Regions from separate parts of the Homo sapiens genome. Here region 2 is linked to region 1. Evidence: promoter capture Hi-C in 16 types of primary human blood cells and fetal thymus (Javierre and others, 2016). All regions are on one chromosome and are shown on one strand. The core of a region is centred on a gene start or on the middle of the fragment in contact, and the rest is flanking DNA. Distances in the headings are between cores, read along the strand shown.

Region 1 (7,593 bases), core at 1,517-4,016:
CCCCCTCTATAAAAAATACTAAAACTTAGCTGGGCATGGTGGCTCGTGCTTGTAGTCCCAGCTACTTGAGAGGCTGAGGTGGAAGGATTGCTTGAGCCAGGAGGTTGAGGCTGCAGTGAGCTGTGACTGCACCTCTGCAGTCCCACCTGGGTGATAGAGTAAGACCCTGTCTCGAAAGAAAAACAAAAATAGAAAAGCTGGGAAAAGTTCCAAGCAGAGGCAAGAGCAAGTGCAAAGCCCCAGAAATGGGAAGACATTTAGAGACTAGCAGATCAATGTGGCTGGAGATGAAGGAGCTCAGGGTGGGGAGTAGGGCTGAACATGGCATGGGAGTGAGGATGGAGGATGGGGGTGAGGCTGGAGAGGTGGGGGCGGGGCAGGGGGTGTGGGGTGAGGGATGAGGGTTTGAGTGTGGGGAGGTGGGGGTGAGGGTGAAGAGGTGAGAATGGGCTCATGAGGGTCAGGGTGATCTACGGGACACTAGTCTAGAGATGCCAAGGATGCCACTGGCTGTACCTGTGGGGAGTCCAGGGAGGGGTAGAGGCTGCACACATTGGCCTGGGGAGTCATATTTAAAGGGAAGAGCATGTGGGTCTTGTCTAAAGATCAAGTGTAGATAAGGACGGGAGGAGGCTGGGTGTGATGGCTCCCGCCTGTAATCCTAGCACTTTGGGAGGCTGAGGCAGGAAGATTGCTTTAGCCCAGGAGTTCTAGATCAGCCTGGGCAACATAGCCATAGTGAGACACCAACTCTCTACAACAGCAAAACAAAACAAAACAAAAAAACATGCAGCTGGGCATGGTGGTGCACACCTGTGGTCCTAGCTACTCAGGAGGCTGAGGTGGGAGGATTGCTGGAGCCTAGGATGTCAAGGCTTCAGTGAGCCGTATTCGCACCACTGCACTCCAGCCTGGGCAACAGAGCGAGAGCCTGTCTCAGAAAAAAAAAAAAAAAAAAGAAAGAAAAAGGAAAGAACAATAAAAGTCAACTGCTGAGAGGGAGGTTTAGGAAGAAGGGGCTGGCATTATGACTGAGGTGTGAAATAGTCTTTTGGGCCAGGTGCAGTGCCTTATGCCTGTAATCCCAGCAATTTGGGAGGCCAAGGTGGGAGGATCACTTGAGCCCAGGAGTTTGAGGCTGCAGTAAGCTATGATCACACCACTGCACTCCAGCCTTGGTGACAGAGCAAGACCCTGTCTCTATTAAAAACAACAAGAAAGGGAAATAGTCCCTTGGGGGAGAGATTTAGGATTGTCAGTAGCCCTGAGGGCTCGCTTAGGGTCCGTTATCAGCCAGGGTCCAGTCAAAAGACAACACATTATAGTTTTTAACTGAGAGAATTTAATATAAAGGATTGTTAACTAGGTATAAAGATGTGTTTAGGTAACTGTCGGGGTATAATACTAACAGTAGCAACTGCAGGAAGTAGCTACCACTGGTAGGTGGTATTATTAAAATGTAGATGCTTGAGGAGGGGCACAGGGAGGTGAAACTCAGACATCTGAGGAGAGGGTGCTGCTCTGCTAGGGCTGGTGTCTCTGAGGAGAAAACGAGGCTGGTTCTGCAAATGTTGGAATAAGTGCAGACTGGATTCCACTGCTGCTTCCAGAATGTTCCAACTGCCACCTCCAGGATAAAGAAGCAAGAGTGGATGACACCAGACAGGACAGGAGCAAGCAGGAAGCAAAGCCCCCTATTGATAGAGCCAAACCGGGATCAGCTGGAAAGCAGAAGTGTTTGCAGAGGCCCAGCCTGATCATTATAGAGCCAAGAACAGCAGCTGGCTTTGGAGCTTGGTCAACCGGCTTGAGGCCTGAGTTGAAAGCTAGACCCATCAGCACAGTCTCTTCTGGTGATTGGACTTTTGCTAGGTGAGTACACTGAAGCCAGGTAAAGGGAGTGGAGAGTGTGTGTGCCACTGAGTGATTTACAATTCAGGATCCTGGAATATAATTCCGTGAGGACGCAGCGGGTGACTGGGTGCAAAGTAGCCCAGTTCAAGGGACCTGTGGGCCTGGGGATGAGGACCTTTGCTTCTCCACATGCGGTCCATGGACTCGCAGCATCAGCATCGTCTGAGAGCTTGTGAGAAATGCAGAATTTCAGGCCACTGAGACCGCTGGAATTGGAATCTGCATTTTCCAGATCTCCTGGTGGTCCTCAACTACTTACTGGTTTGGGATGGGAAACTAGAAGGCTTGGGCTGGGAAACTAGGGAGTGGTGATCAGCGAGGGGGCGGCCTGGCTACAGCAAAAAGGACAGGCACTGGGAGACAGCCCCTGGGCATGAGCTTCCAAGCTGGGGCTTTTTGAGGAAGCCATAGTGGTCTGGCATTGGGACCTCTGAACGAAATTTCCCGGTGGCTACAAGGAATTTTCCCACTTCCCCAAATTAGTAGATTCGATTTCCATCCCACTAGCTGGTAATTTACAGTATAGTGAATTTCCTTATTTCTTTTTTCTTCCCAAGACTTTCAAAAAGTAAAGCCAACCCCTTTATTTATCTTTGGGCTCGTCCAGTCTGGCTTCCCCCCTCCGATCGTTCGCAGTGGGACAGCCCGCCGGGCCTCCTTCCTTCCCCAGAAACCCTCCAGGCCTGGGAGAGGACGCGTTTTGCATTCAGGAAAAACCAATCGCTCCCCTATCGTACATAACCAAGAGAAAAGGTGGCGGACGAGGGGCGTGGCAAAGTGATTAGTGCGGCCTGGACCCTGCGTGCCTTGCGCGCTGCGGGCTCTTTGCGTCTGCGTAGTTCGCTCACCTCCCTTTCTAACTCCGCTGCCGCCATGGCTCCTGTGGTTAGTATGGCTCCGCGTGAGGCCTCGGCTCCAGGGGAGGCACGTGGGCCTCGCCGAGCCCGGCATCTACCCAGGCTCGCTGGGGACGGCGCCCTGCAGCGTCCTGCTGGGGTGGGCTGGCAGGTCGGCCGGAGCGGGCCAGAGCCCCTGCCGATCCCAGCACGTTGTAGGCGGAGGAGGCCGCGGCCCGAGGCTCGTGAGGGAGATCCGGGAGGTCTCGGAGGCCCGGGGCCCCAGCTAGGGGCTAGCGGGGAGCTGGAGCCTGGAGACTGCGGTCTGGGCCGGCCACTGGTCCTCGGACCCCGGCCGGGGGCCTGATTACCTGGGTGGAGGGCGGGGAAGAAGAACGGGACCTGCTACCCTGGGGAGCCGCGCATTCGGAAGTCCACGGCCAAGACTCGGGGACGAATCCGCGGAAGGGCGGCTTGGTCGGCGTGCTTTCGGAGAGGAGGCCTGGGTTTGAGGAGCTTTTTAGCGTCCCCAGAGGAAATTAGTTTATCAGGGCGCACTGTACAGACCCAAACGGGTGTTGCAGTGGTGTAGGGAGAAGGCTCTCATTGCATTCTCCTTTAGCTATGCTGGGACTGGGCTGTGCGGCGCCCTCCTCCTAGGTTATTTGAGAAAGTTGTTTTTCCGTGTTCTTCGTCCCAAGATCCTACTTTTCCTCTTTTGTTGGGACTCCCTGGTTAACATTTCCGGTTCTTCTGCTCTTTCTGTCTGGTTGGGCTTTTGAATGCCTTTTGGTTTAAAACCTTGATGGAGAAGTATCAAGCCCGTTGTGGGTAGGTCTCTTGATTGATTGTGTGTGTTCGGAATAGATCTTAAAGTACCCCTCTTAGATTATTACTGCGAAGAGACGTTGTAAAAAATAAATCAGTGATTTTTGTAGTGGCCAAATGTTTGAAAAGTTGATCCAGTTAACACAAGTTTTAGATGAAGTTCTTTTAAACATGAAGGGAGGTAAGATGTGTTTTTGGAAAAGTCTATTTAGTTCTGCAGAGCTTTTAAACGTGAAAGTACAGGTTGGTACGATGCACAAGTGCATTAATGGTGTCAAGTTTGTAGAGAGATAAGATTAACACAAGCTTCTTCGTAAGAGTGAAGAAACTGGAACCTTGTAGGATGTGCTTTGCCGGGTGGTTTGGAAGTACTAATGCATAGATGAAGCGAATCAAAATGTCAGAAGTTCTTGACGGTAGTGTTGTAATAAGATTCTAGGTTTTAGCCTTAACCTTGTCCAAGCTGGAGTGGACAGGCACCTAGAATACTTTGCAACTCCCTTCATGAGAAGGTGGATGAGACAGGATTAAGGGAGATGAGCTAAGACGGATCAGGACCCTACTCTGAACATGTAGGACAAGGATTGATTTCATATGAAAATTGTGGGTATGCAAGGCATTTTGTATGCCTGCACTCTAATTTTGGAAAAATAGTATTTTTTTGAAATTGGGAATGTTAGGGCAAACAAAAGGAAGTGTTCATTTTATTGTGGTTCATAAACTAAGAGACCTTCATGCCTGTAGAGATTGGGGAGACTGGAAAGTTTGAGTGAGTCAAGAGTGCTAGAATGATTTCCCCATCAAAAGGGCATGACCCCAGGCCCCAAGCTTGTACAGCAGCATCTGCCCCATTATACCTCTGGCACTCAGGCAGTGATGCCTCTTGGCCCTCTGGCAAAGGGAGCACACTTCCGTTAGTTTTGTATTTGTATGGACTTTTATACCTATGACGTTTCTGGTTCTGTTAATCTTGTTTTTCCGACTGACTGAAACTTCATCTCTGTTATCATTTGTGTATTTTCTTAGAAAAAGCTTGTGGTGAAGGGGGGCAAAAAAAAGAAGCAAGTTCTGAAGTTCACTCTTGATTGCACCCACCCTGTAGAAGATGGAATCATGGATGCTGCCAATTTTGTAAGTTACATCCTTATTGCCACTCGGGTGGTCACGAACATTTTGAGATACTGTTGAGAAAACCTACTGGGGTACATTTCTGTTTTCAGGCTTATAGGCAGCTTCACAGGTCTGGCTGTATCATCTCACCCTGGGAATGTGGGCAGATTACTTGTTTGTTTCCAAGTCTTGTTTCTTCTTGTGTGTGCAACAGTTGTGAGGAGTAAAAGGAGATGGGCTTAGAATAAGCAAGAAGGGCTCTAGCACAGAGGTGTTAGAGGACTATCTTGTTTTTCTCCTTTAGTTTCCACAAATGATTTTACTTAAAAGTTACCCAGAAACAAGCCAGGCACGGTGGCTCACGCCCGTAATCCCAACACTTTAGGAGGCTGAGGCGGGCAGATCATGAGGTCAGGAGTTCGAGACCAGTCTGGCCAACATAGTGAAACCCCGTCTCCACTAAAAATACAAAAAAATTAGCTGGGTGTGGTGGTGTGCACCTGTAATCCCAGCTACTCGGGAGGCTGCAGTAGAAGAATCGCGTGAACACGGGAGGCGGAGGTGGCAGTGAGCAGAGATCGCACCATTGCACTCCATCCTGGGAGATAGTGCGAGACTCCGTCTCAAAAACAAAACAAAAAAAGTTACTGAGAAACAGACAAATTTCACTGGGTCCATGGCATCCCCCTTGCTGTTTGGTGTGTTTAAGCATAAGTGAGGGACCCTGATCCTGACTATGGGCTGCCTCTGTCCTGGGTCTCACTGCTTTGATGTGGAGCTTTGGACAGGTGGCAGCAGTTCCCGAAGCTTTTCTATATTATGAAGCATCTGAGCTTCAGTGTTTAAAGTACCCTGCTTGCTGAATTGTAATTGGAGCTTTTTTTTTTTTCTTCAGATCTTGCTCTGTGCTGATTTTTTGCCCCTGTATTTGGCCCATTCCCCAATATTCCTCTATCCTATTGCAATCTAGAAATATTAAATAATCCTTCCGCCACATTTTGACTCAGCAGTTTGGTTTTGACATTTTATTCTTTTTCCTCTAATAGCCATGTTTGGGGGATTCAGACTTCGTATTTGTGTGTAGAAGTCTCCTAAATTTGCATTTGCTCTAAATTCTCCAGAAGGTTGAACTATTGCCAGGATCAGTATCATTACAACAAAAATAATTTTTAAACACAAAATAATTATGGTCACGAATTATCCAGAATGGAATTTAGGTAACCTCTTATAGTTTATTGCCTTTATGTAGATGCTGTTTGCATCTGTGTCCTTCAAGAAATCCCCTATTTCCTTAGTTCTTTCTCTATCCAGTGACTTCTGGCTTTTCTGTGGCCTCCTCTTTTTCAACTTTGGTGTCTTCCAGTTTGGTATTCACATGGTGGCCCTGTTCTGGCATTATTCCTGCCTCCCTCCCTCTGAGCCATTCCCTCAGCCCACTCATCTGTTTGTGTGATTGTCTTTCCTTCTGGAAGCCTCCTTAGGATAGAAAACTTAAGTCATTTATGAATCTTGAGATGCAGAATTCAAGATTTCTGACCTAATCACTCTGTGCCCCATCTATGGTTAATGTATACTTTTTGTTTATTTTATTTTATTTACTTTGTTTTTTGAGACCAAGTTTTGCTCTTGTTGCCCAGGCTGGAGTGCAATGGTGCAGTCTCGGCTCACCACAATCTCCGTTTCCCTGGTTCAAGCCATTCTGGTGTCTCAGCCTCCCGAGTAGCTGGGATTATAGGCGCCTGCCACCACGCCTGGCTAATTTTTGTATTATTAGTAGAGATGGGGTTCCTCCATGTTGGTCAGGCTGGTCTCGAACCCCTGACTTTAGGTGATCCACCCACCTCGGCCTCCCAAAGTGCTGGGATTACAGGCATGAGCCACTGCGCCTGGCCATTTTATTTTATTTTTATTTATTTATTTTTGAGGTGGAATCTCACTCTGTCACCCAGGCTGGAGTGCAATGGTGTGATCTTGGCTCACTGCAACCTCCACCTTCCAGGTTTAAGTGATTCTCTTTCTCAGCCTCCCGAGTAGCTGAGATTACAGGCGTGTGCCACCATGCCCACCTAATTTGTGTATTTTTGTGGTAGAGACGGCGCTTCACCATGTTGGCCAGGTTGGTCTTGAACTCCTGACCTCAGGTGATTTGCCAGCCTCGGCCTCCCAAAGTATCGGGATTACAAGCATGAACCGCTGTGCCCAGCCAAATTTTTTTTTTTTTTTTTTGAGACGGAGTCTTGCTCTTTGTCACCCAGGCTGGAGTGCAGTGGTGTGATCTCGGCTCACTGCAAGCTCCGCCTCCCATGTTCATGCCATTCTCCTGCCTCAGCCTCCCGAATAGCTGGGACTACAGGTGTCTGTCACTATGCCCGGCTAATTTTTTGTATTTTTAGTAGAGACAGAGTTTCACCGTGTTAGCCAGGATGGTCTCAATCTCCTGCCTTTGTGATCCGCCTGCCTCGGGCTCCCAAAGTGTTGGGATTACAGGCGTGAGCCACCGCGCCTGGCCCCAAATTTTTATTTATTTATTTATTTTGAGACGGAGTCTTGCTCTGTTGCCCAGGCTGGAATGCAGTGGCACGATCTTGGCTCACTGTAAGCTCCGCCTACCGTGTTCATGCCATTCTCCTGCCTCAGCCTCCCAAGTAGCTGGGAAACAGGCGCCCGCCACCACGCCTGGCTAATTTTCTGTATTTTTAGTAGAAACAGGGTTTCACCATGTTAGCCAGGATGGTCTCGATCTCCTGACCTCGTGATCTGCCCACCTCAGTCTCCCAAATTTTTATTTTTTGAGAAAGGGTCTGTTGTCCAGGCTGGAGGGCAGTAGCATGATCCTGGCTCACTGCAGCCTCAACCTCATAGGCCCAAGTGATCCTCCCACCTCAGCCTCTGGAATAGCTGGCAC
Region 2 (6,777 bases), core at 3,015-5,514, 130 kb after region 1:
TCAGTTTACGCAGCCTTTATGTTGTGACTTTTTGGTTCCTTCCAGTATCTGGGTCCCAGACACTGAAGTCAGAAGGAAGCTCAGGAGACATACAGGCCACCTCCCTGTCACCCTCATCTGGGGGGACAAGGAATCTGTCCCTACCCCAGTACGGTTACCCCACAGCTGAGCACTGGCCGCAAGCGTTGAGGCAAAGAGCACCAGGTGGAACCCCCTGTGGCCAGAGGCCAGGTGAGGCCCCTGCACCTGTTTATAGCCAGAGGCTCAGCTTCCCTGAACTGGGAATAGCACCTGCCTCCCTGGGTTGATAGAGGATTAGGTGAGATAATAAGTGTTAGGTTCTCAACCATTACATCTATTAAATTTTTATTGTCCAGCTTGTCTTGAACACATGCTTCTAATGGGGAGTGTGAGGCCACAGAAAGGGCACCTAACAATGGGAGGGCTGGAGACCTGAAACCACCGTGGTGGCTCCGACAGGCATTACGTCATTTTAGGGTTCCTAGCATAGTTTGATCCCTTCATGGGCTCCTGTGAGCACTGGCTGAGAGTGTGATGGTGTCCTACAAACTGTGGACTCTGCCCTGTGCCATGTGAGGGTGGCTGTCATTCCTGCCTCACCAGGTGGTTTGTTCCACCCCTGGGCAAGCTTTCATTTTGTCCCTGGCATGGCATAGAACTGGGCTGAGCAGTTCACACAGCAGCCCTGCAGATAGTGCAGGGTACAGCTGCTGCGGCCCAAAGAACAGGAGACGTCAAGTCTTTTCTGTAAAGGGCCACATAGTAAATGCTTCAGGCACTGTGGGCCAGAGAGTCTCTGTTGCAATTACTCAGCTCTGCCCTTGTGGAGTGAAAGCAGCCACTATGTGTAAATGATGGGCGTGGCTATGTCCTAATAAAACTTTATTTATACAAACAGTGTGCAGAGTTCATAGAGACAGGAAGTAGACTAGAGGTGACCAGGGGATGGGGAGTTGTTGTTTAAGGGTGCAGAGCTCCTGTTTGGGGTGATGAAATATTTTGGAAACAGATATTGGTAAGGGTGGCACAGTATGTGAATGTACTTAATGCCACTGAACTGTAGACTTAAAAATGGTTAAAATGGCAAATTTTATGTTTCATATATGTAATAAAAAACTGAAAAACAAAAAAAGCAGTCCAGGACGGTCCTTGCTTCCCTGCTGGCTCGGACTGAGCCGCAGCACCTGAAGTGCACAAACCCTTTTCATCTGAACCGCAGCCAGGCGGGCCCCCCCTTCTAGATGTATTGATTTCTTTTTTGACACTAACTATAGGATTAATACAAAAATTTGTCTTGCTCCTTTGCTAAGCCATTTTCACCTGCCACAACCATTCAGAACCCTGACACTGCCATCTATTTTATTCTCTGTCCTTCCAGCTTGGTGTCATCTAGAAATGACCTCCAATATCTTCACACATGTCCATCACTGTGTTCCTGATGGAGACACTGCAGAGGCCTGGGCCAGCGGGGCTGCCACTGGGCCATTCATTAATGCTCTAAGGGTATGCCTGGTTTGCTGGTGAAAACGTCATCTCATTGGATGGGTCTAGTCTGTCTGCTTGTTTTTATCTTTCCCACAAGGACATACAGGCCACCCAGCTAATATTGTTTGGAAATGAAGTTATGCCGTTCTACAGAATTCTCCCATCCTGGTTTAGAAACCACATCGAAAGGGAAACGAGGCCAAGTCAGGCAAGGCTGATTCAGATTGAACCATATGGGCCCCAGGGCTCCAACTGAACCAATCTGGTGGGCTGAGGTAAGGCAATTCCTTTTGCCTTAATAACTCCAGACTTCACCCTGAGATAGCGCCTATCCAGCAACTTCAAAGCAAGGGGCAAATCATTCTATAACCAGCTATTGTCTTTTTTTTTTTTTTTCGAGACAGAGTCTTACTCTACGGCCTAGGCTGGAGTGCAGTGATATGATCTCGGCTCACTGCAACCTCCCCCTTCTGGGTTCAAGCAATTCTCCTGCCTCAGCCTCCTGAGTAGCTGGGATTACAGGCGCCCCTACCACGCCCAGCTAATTTTTGTATTTTTAGTAGACATGGGGTTTCACCATGTTGGCCAGGCTGGAACTCCTGACCTCAGGTGATCCGCCCGCCCCAGCCTTCCAAAGTGCTGGGGTTACAGGTGTGAGTCACCGCGCCCGGCCAGCTAGTGTCTTAAAGATAAAAGTGACCTCAAACACAAACTGTACGCATTTAAATTTTGATAGAAGCAAAGCTTTCCCTTGGAAACTGAGCAATCGCAGCTAACAAGGTCTCACATCAATTCGCTGATCAATTTTTAAACGCAACCTTTCTAGTGCTAAGTAGGATAAATGTGAAAACTGCTTCTTGTGCAGATGCCCAGAGCTGTCTGAGCAAATGCCACTGCTCTCATTTCTGAGATGCTGCCTCACTGTCCAGAAGCACACATGTCTGGGCGTGTGCCGTCCCTGTCCTTCCGAGAGACCCAGAGGCGCTGGCGGCATACAAGCTGGCTTTTTGTTAGTGTTCACTTTCTTGTTCCAATTGTGGGGACATGAGCCCCAGCAAATACATCTGACTGCGATCCGCACGGTTCGCGGCAGCTGGGAAATGGACAGTGGATGTTGGGTGAAATGCAGATCTCAGGTTCTTCAGCTTGTGACACTGCAGGGGCTGCATTCCCAATGACCAAGACAGACAGTTACTGGAGCCTCCATGGGGGCAGCTAGGACCTGCATCCGGCTTCAGAATTTGGGAAGCGTGTGCACCCTGAATTCTCCTCGTTAACTGTGGAATGGGGGTCACGCGTGTGGGAAATCTGAGTCCTGGGGAGCTTAAGGGACATGCTGAGGCCCGAGGCATCCACTGCTGGGTGATGGCACCAGACTCGGCATCCCCTCTGGCCATGGCCACCTGGCTCACCTTTCTACTCTCCCCTGGGGCAGGGCGCCCTCACAAAACAGAAAGAGGGAGGGAGGCTGCTGCGCTGGCTCCCGGGAGCACGTGCTCACTGGTCCACGCGGCAGACTTAACCATGTGCTCTGGCGAGCCCGTGCTGGGTTCTGGGGTGCTGGGAGAGCCCCATCTTACCTCATCGGTGATCTGGCCTCCGAAGGTCACCCATGTTCCTGGAAGGAGACACAGGGGCTCAAGTTAGGAACCTGGCAGGAAGCCAGATTATCCCGTCGGTGCTCAGACCTCAGGCTGTAGGGCACAGGGGGCAGCCACAGGTGTCCCTCTGTGCTGCTCTGTGGCCAGGGTGTCCTTAGTGTGTGTGGACAGCTGGCCTTCAGAGAAAGTCCTGCTCTCCTGGGGTCAATAAACTGAGGGGACAAAAGTCTCTAGAGCGGGCTGCTGGCTATGGGTCCAGGAGGTCTGGGGCTTTTGAAATGCTGGTCAGAGCTGTACTGAGGCAGCTCTAGTTCCAAGGACATGCCGCAAGAAATGGCACAAGGGATGCCTCTCTGAAAACACACCAGGTCTGACAGCCGCGTCTGCGTGCTCCTGCTGGGACAGAGCGGGGAGGGCGGTGTCAGGGCAGTGGGTGCTGGTGGGGGGCGGGGTGTGTGTACTGCAGTGGGCGGTGTGTGTGTGGGGGTGTGTGTACTGCATGCAGAGGGGAGGTGGGGACTGCACATTCTGGAAACAGGCCTTGTATCTGACAGGAGAGGAAAAAGGGCCAAATCCAATGGCGCTCCAGGAGGGACTCACGAGCTGAGCCTGCCTTGGAAGGTAAGGTGTCTTCGTTGCACTCCCGGGGCCCTAAGGGCCTCTGATTTTGTGGTGTGGGGTGGGGACCATGTGTGGAGGGGCCCCTAGTATCCGCCTCACCTCCTCTGCTGAGACTGTGTCTCTCTCCCTCTATCCCAGCCCCCCTCCCACCTGCCTCTTTGTTGCCATGGCAACCGAGCCCCCCTGAATCCTGGGCTCTGGGTGCAGCTACTCCCTGGGGAGTGCCAAGGTTTGGGCCACCCTGCCTCCCAAGGGGTGTCCAGTTCAGTCCATGCCCGGCCTCCCCACAGCCTGTTTCCCTGGTGGGACGGAGGGGACCCCCACACTCACCAAGTCCCAGGCAGGAGACCCGCAGGCCAGACTTGCCCAGGTTCCTGAAAAACAAACGCCACGTGAGTTCTCAGCACCCAGGCAGGACCCTGCCAGCCAGGCTCAGTTCCCGCCAGGGCCAGCCCCCCACCCACTCCCCCAACAGTCAATGTGTGTTTGGAGGCTCCGAAAGGCACCGGGGACCTTCAGAGAGGTGCCTCTGCTCACCCACCCCGGGGGTAAAGTGCCAACTGCCCCCGGCCCACACCATGCTGCTGGCACGGGCCCTGCTGGTGCCCAGTGGGGGTCTGCAGAGTGGTCTCAAGGACAGATGGAAATGCACAGGGACGCTGTCTGTTTTATGGCGAAACTGGACTGGTCTCACCCCCATGGCACCATCCATGCGGCGCCCCTTGCAGAGAAGCCCCTTCTTCCTTCCTCTCTAAGGCTGCATTTGTGATTTTGTGTCTCTTCTTCCTGTCTCCAGCGACTGGGGCAGGAGATCGTCCCACTTCACTGGACCACATGGCCTGTGCATCTGTCCCTCGGGGTGCGGGGAGCTCCATGGTAGGGCTGCCAGTTCTCAAGCAAGGCCAGCCCTTCCTTTGTTACAGCCACAGCCAGGCCCAACAGCAGCGGCAGAGCCTGGCAGCGTAGGCCTCCTAACCAAGCACAGCTGCCCGGGCTCCTTCCCGGGGCCACTGAGGCACCTGCCCACTGTGGTGCATCCCAGGGTCCACAGGAACAGGCCTTGGGCCATCATGACTGTCCTTAGGAGGTGAAGGAGGGTGGCAGCCCTCTGCTGAGGACCGGCATGCCCGTATGTCCTGGCACAGGTTGCCTAGGAGCCTGCAGGGTTGCAGCAGGCCAGGCAGTCCCCAGGCATCCTGTCCCCGGATCCTCCCGGGAGCCCTACGCGGCAGGAGGAGCCCTACGCGGCAGGAGGAGCCCACGCGGCAGGAGGTGCCCTCGCGGCAGGAGGTGCCCTATGCGGCAGGAGGTGCCCTCGCGGCAGGAGGTGCCCTATGTGGCAGGAGGAGCCCACGCGGCAGGAGGAGCCCACGCGGCAGGAGGGAGCCCTCGCCGCAGGAGTCCTACGCAGCAGAGCCCTATGCGGCGGCAGGAGTCCTACGCAGCAGAGCCCTACGCGGTGGCAGGAGTCCTAAGCGGCAGGTGCCCTACGCAGCAGGCGCCTTGCTTGTCGTGACATCGATTCCCACGTTACGATACCTGCCCAGCACGCGGAGGAGCTGGATCCCACCCAGGCAGTTGGCTGCCAGCTCACGTTCCCCACCATGGTGGCATGCATCCCACACCCCAGCCTGTTAAGCAGGGCGTGATCTGCCCAGATGGTGAGGTTGACAAGTGGCCGGGTGGATCTCACAGCTGCAGCCAGGCCTTGACCCATCTGGGGTCAGATTCCACTTCCCTTGTGGAATCCAGCTGCCAGCATCTGGTCAAGGGGCAGCTGGTTCTAGGCGGTGGGGAGTGAGAGCCATGAGTTACCAGCGGGTGAGGCCCAGCCTCCTGGCCCAAGGGCCCTGCATTTCCCTGGGGCCATGACACTTCCAACTTCGGAGGATGCGATGTCCTCAGTTTATCCTCTTTCCTGTCCAAGCCTGGCCCCTGGGAAGGCGGCATGGGGCTCAAGCCTCATTCTGAACCCCCGACTTCTGACACGAGCCCACTCTGTCCCTCTCAGCCTCGGTTTCCCTGGTTATAAGGCTCCTGGACTCCTAACTCATGAGTGGATATAATATTTGTAAGCAGCTTGAAAACAGTTGAACGTGTCACCAAACTGAAGGTACTTTAAAATTGCCTAGGTTTATTTTTCAATTTCCTATTAAAACCACTCCAGCTGCCAGCAATATTGCTCCTGTAGGCAGAGCTGGGATTTTCCCTAAAGGAGAACATAAGAAAAGCTGAGTTTTCTTTCAGGAAAGGGGCGCACCGGGTGGCGGCTATGGGCTGAGGCTCTGAAGCCAGAGCCCAAATCCTGGTACAACTTTCCTGGCTGGAGGACACCGGGCATTTTATGGAGTGGCCCGATGCCTCAGTGTTCTCATCTGCAGAATGGGCTCACGAGGCTGCCTTTCTCACGGTGGCTGCCACGAGGACAGAAGAAGATCCATGAGGATAGAAGGCCACAGGACACTGACTCACATGTGTCTCATTTCCCAAAGAGAGCAGGAGGGTAACCTTTTCTTTATTCAAAAACAATGGACAAATCAAATAAGCTTTAACTATTACCATGTTAAAAAGGAACTGAAGTTTCCTTTTTCCTCCTTATACATCAGTGAAATACTCTTGATAGTACCCTCTGAATTGCTGGCATGTTCCAACCCAGAATAACTCGTGTCTGTGGCTGCTGGGGAGAACAGCCCAACTGTACCACTAATACATTCCACATAAGCCTGGTCAGTTTAGAAGTTTAGGTAATTTCCCCCATGCTGGCTAGAAAGTAACTGTGGTAAGAAATTATAAATGCTTAGTAGGAGTCCAATAATGAAGCAAAGGGCTGGAGGTTCTGATCAGTGCCTCTCAGCTGCTTTGGGGTCATAACCCCTTTGCAAAAACAGATAAAGCCTGGAAATATGCCTAGATACGAATGCCCTCAGAACGAACCTTGCTTGCAATGTCTGGGTGTTCACAGAGCCCTGGACCCCACTGGTCTAGATATGTCTGGGCATCGAGAAGGGAGGCCTGGCCCCCACCTCTGCAAAACCACCTCCACGAGTGA

What was found. Contacts are between HindIII fragments. The CHiCAGO score rates a contact against its expected background, and 5 or more counts as called.
Region 2: a fragment that was not itself captured here is called in contact with the fragment with the promoter of RPL22 in region 1 in 4 of 17 cell types (endothelial precursors, megakaryocytes, M1 macrophages and 1 more); the score reaches 8.0 in endothelial precursors.

The regions. Positions count from the first base shown.
Region 1 is chr1:6,194,768-6,202,360 of GRCh38, reverse strand. RPL22 (ribosomal protein L22) reads left to right here and starts at 2,766. Exons shown (of 4, transcript NM_000983.4): 1 at 2,766-2,799; 2 at 4,605-4,709. The coding sequence starts at 2,788. RefSeq lists a silencer at 2,875-3,014. The HindIII fragment of the contact is 15,793 bases long and covers 1-3,886 here.
Region 2 is chr1:6,070,080-6,076,856 of GRCh38, reverse strand. KCNAB2 (potassium voltage-gated channel subfamily A regulatory beta subunit 2) reads right to left here. Exons shown (of 16, transcript NM_001199862.2): 3 at 4,059-4,102; 4 at 3,087-3,124. Among named protein-coding and RNA genes, the nearest start is that of KCNAB2, 28 kb to the right of the region's middle. RefSeq lists an enhancer at 2,192-3,391. The HindIII fragment of the contact is 4,024 bases long and covers 2,253-6,276 here.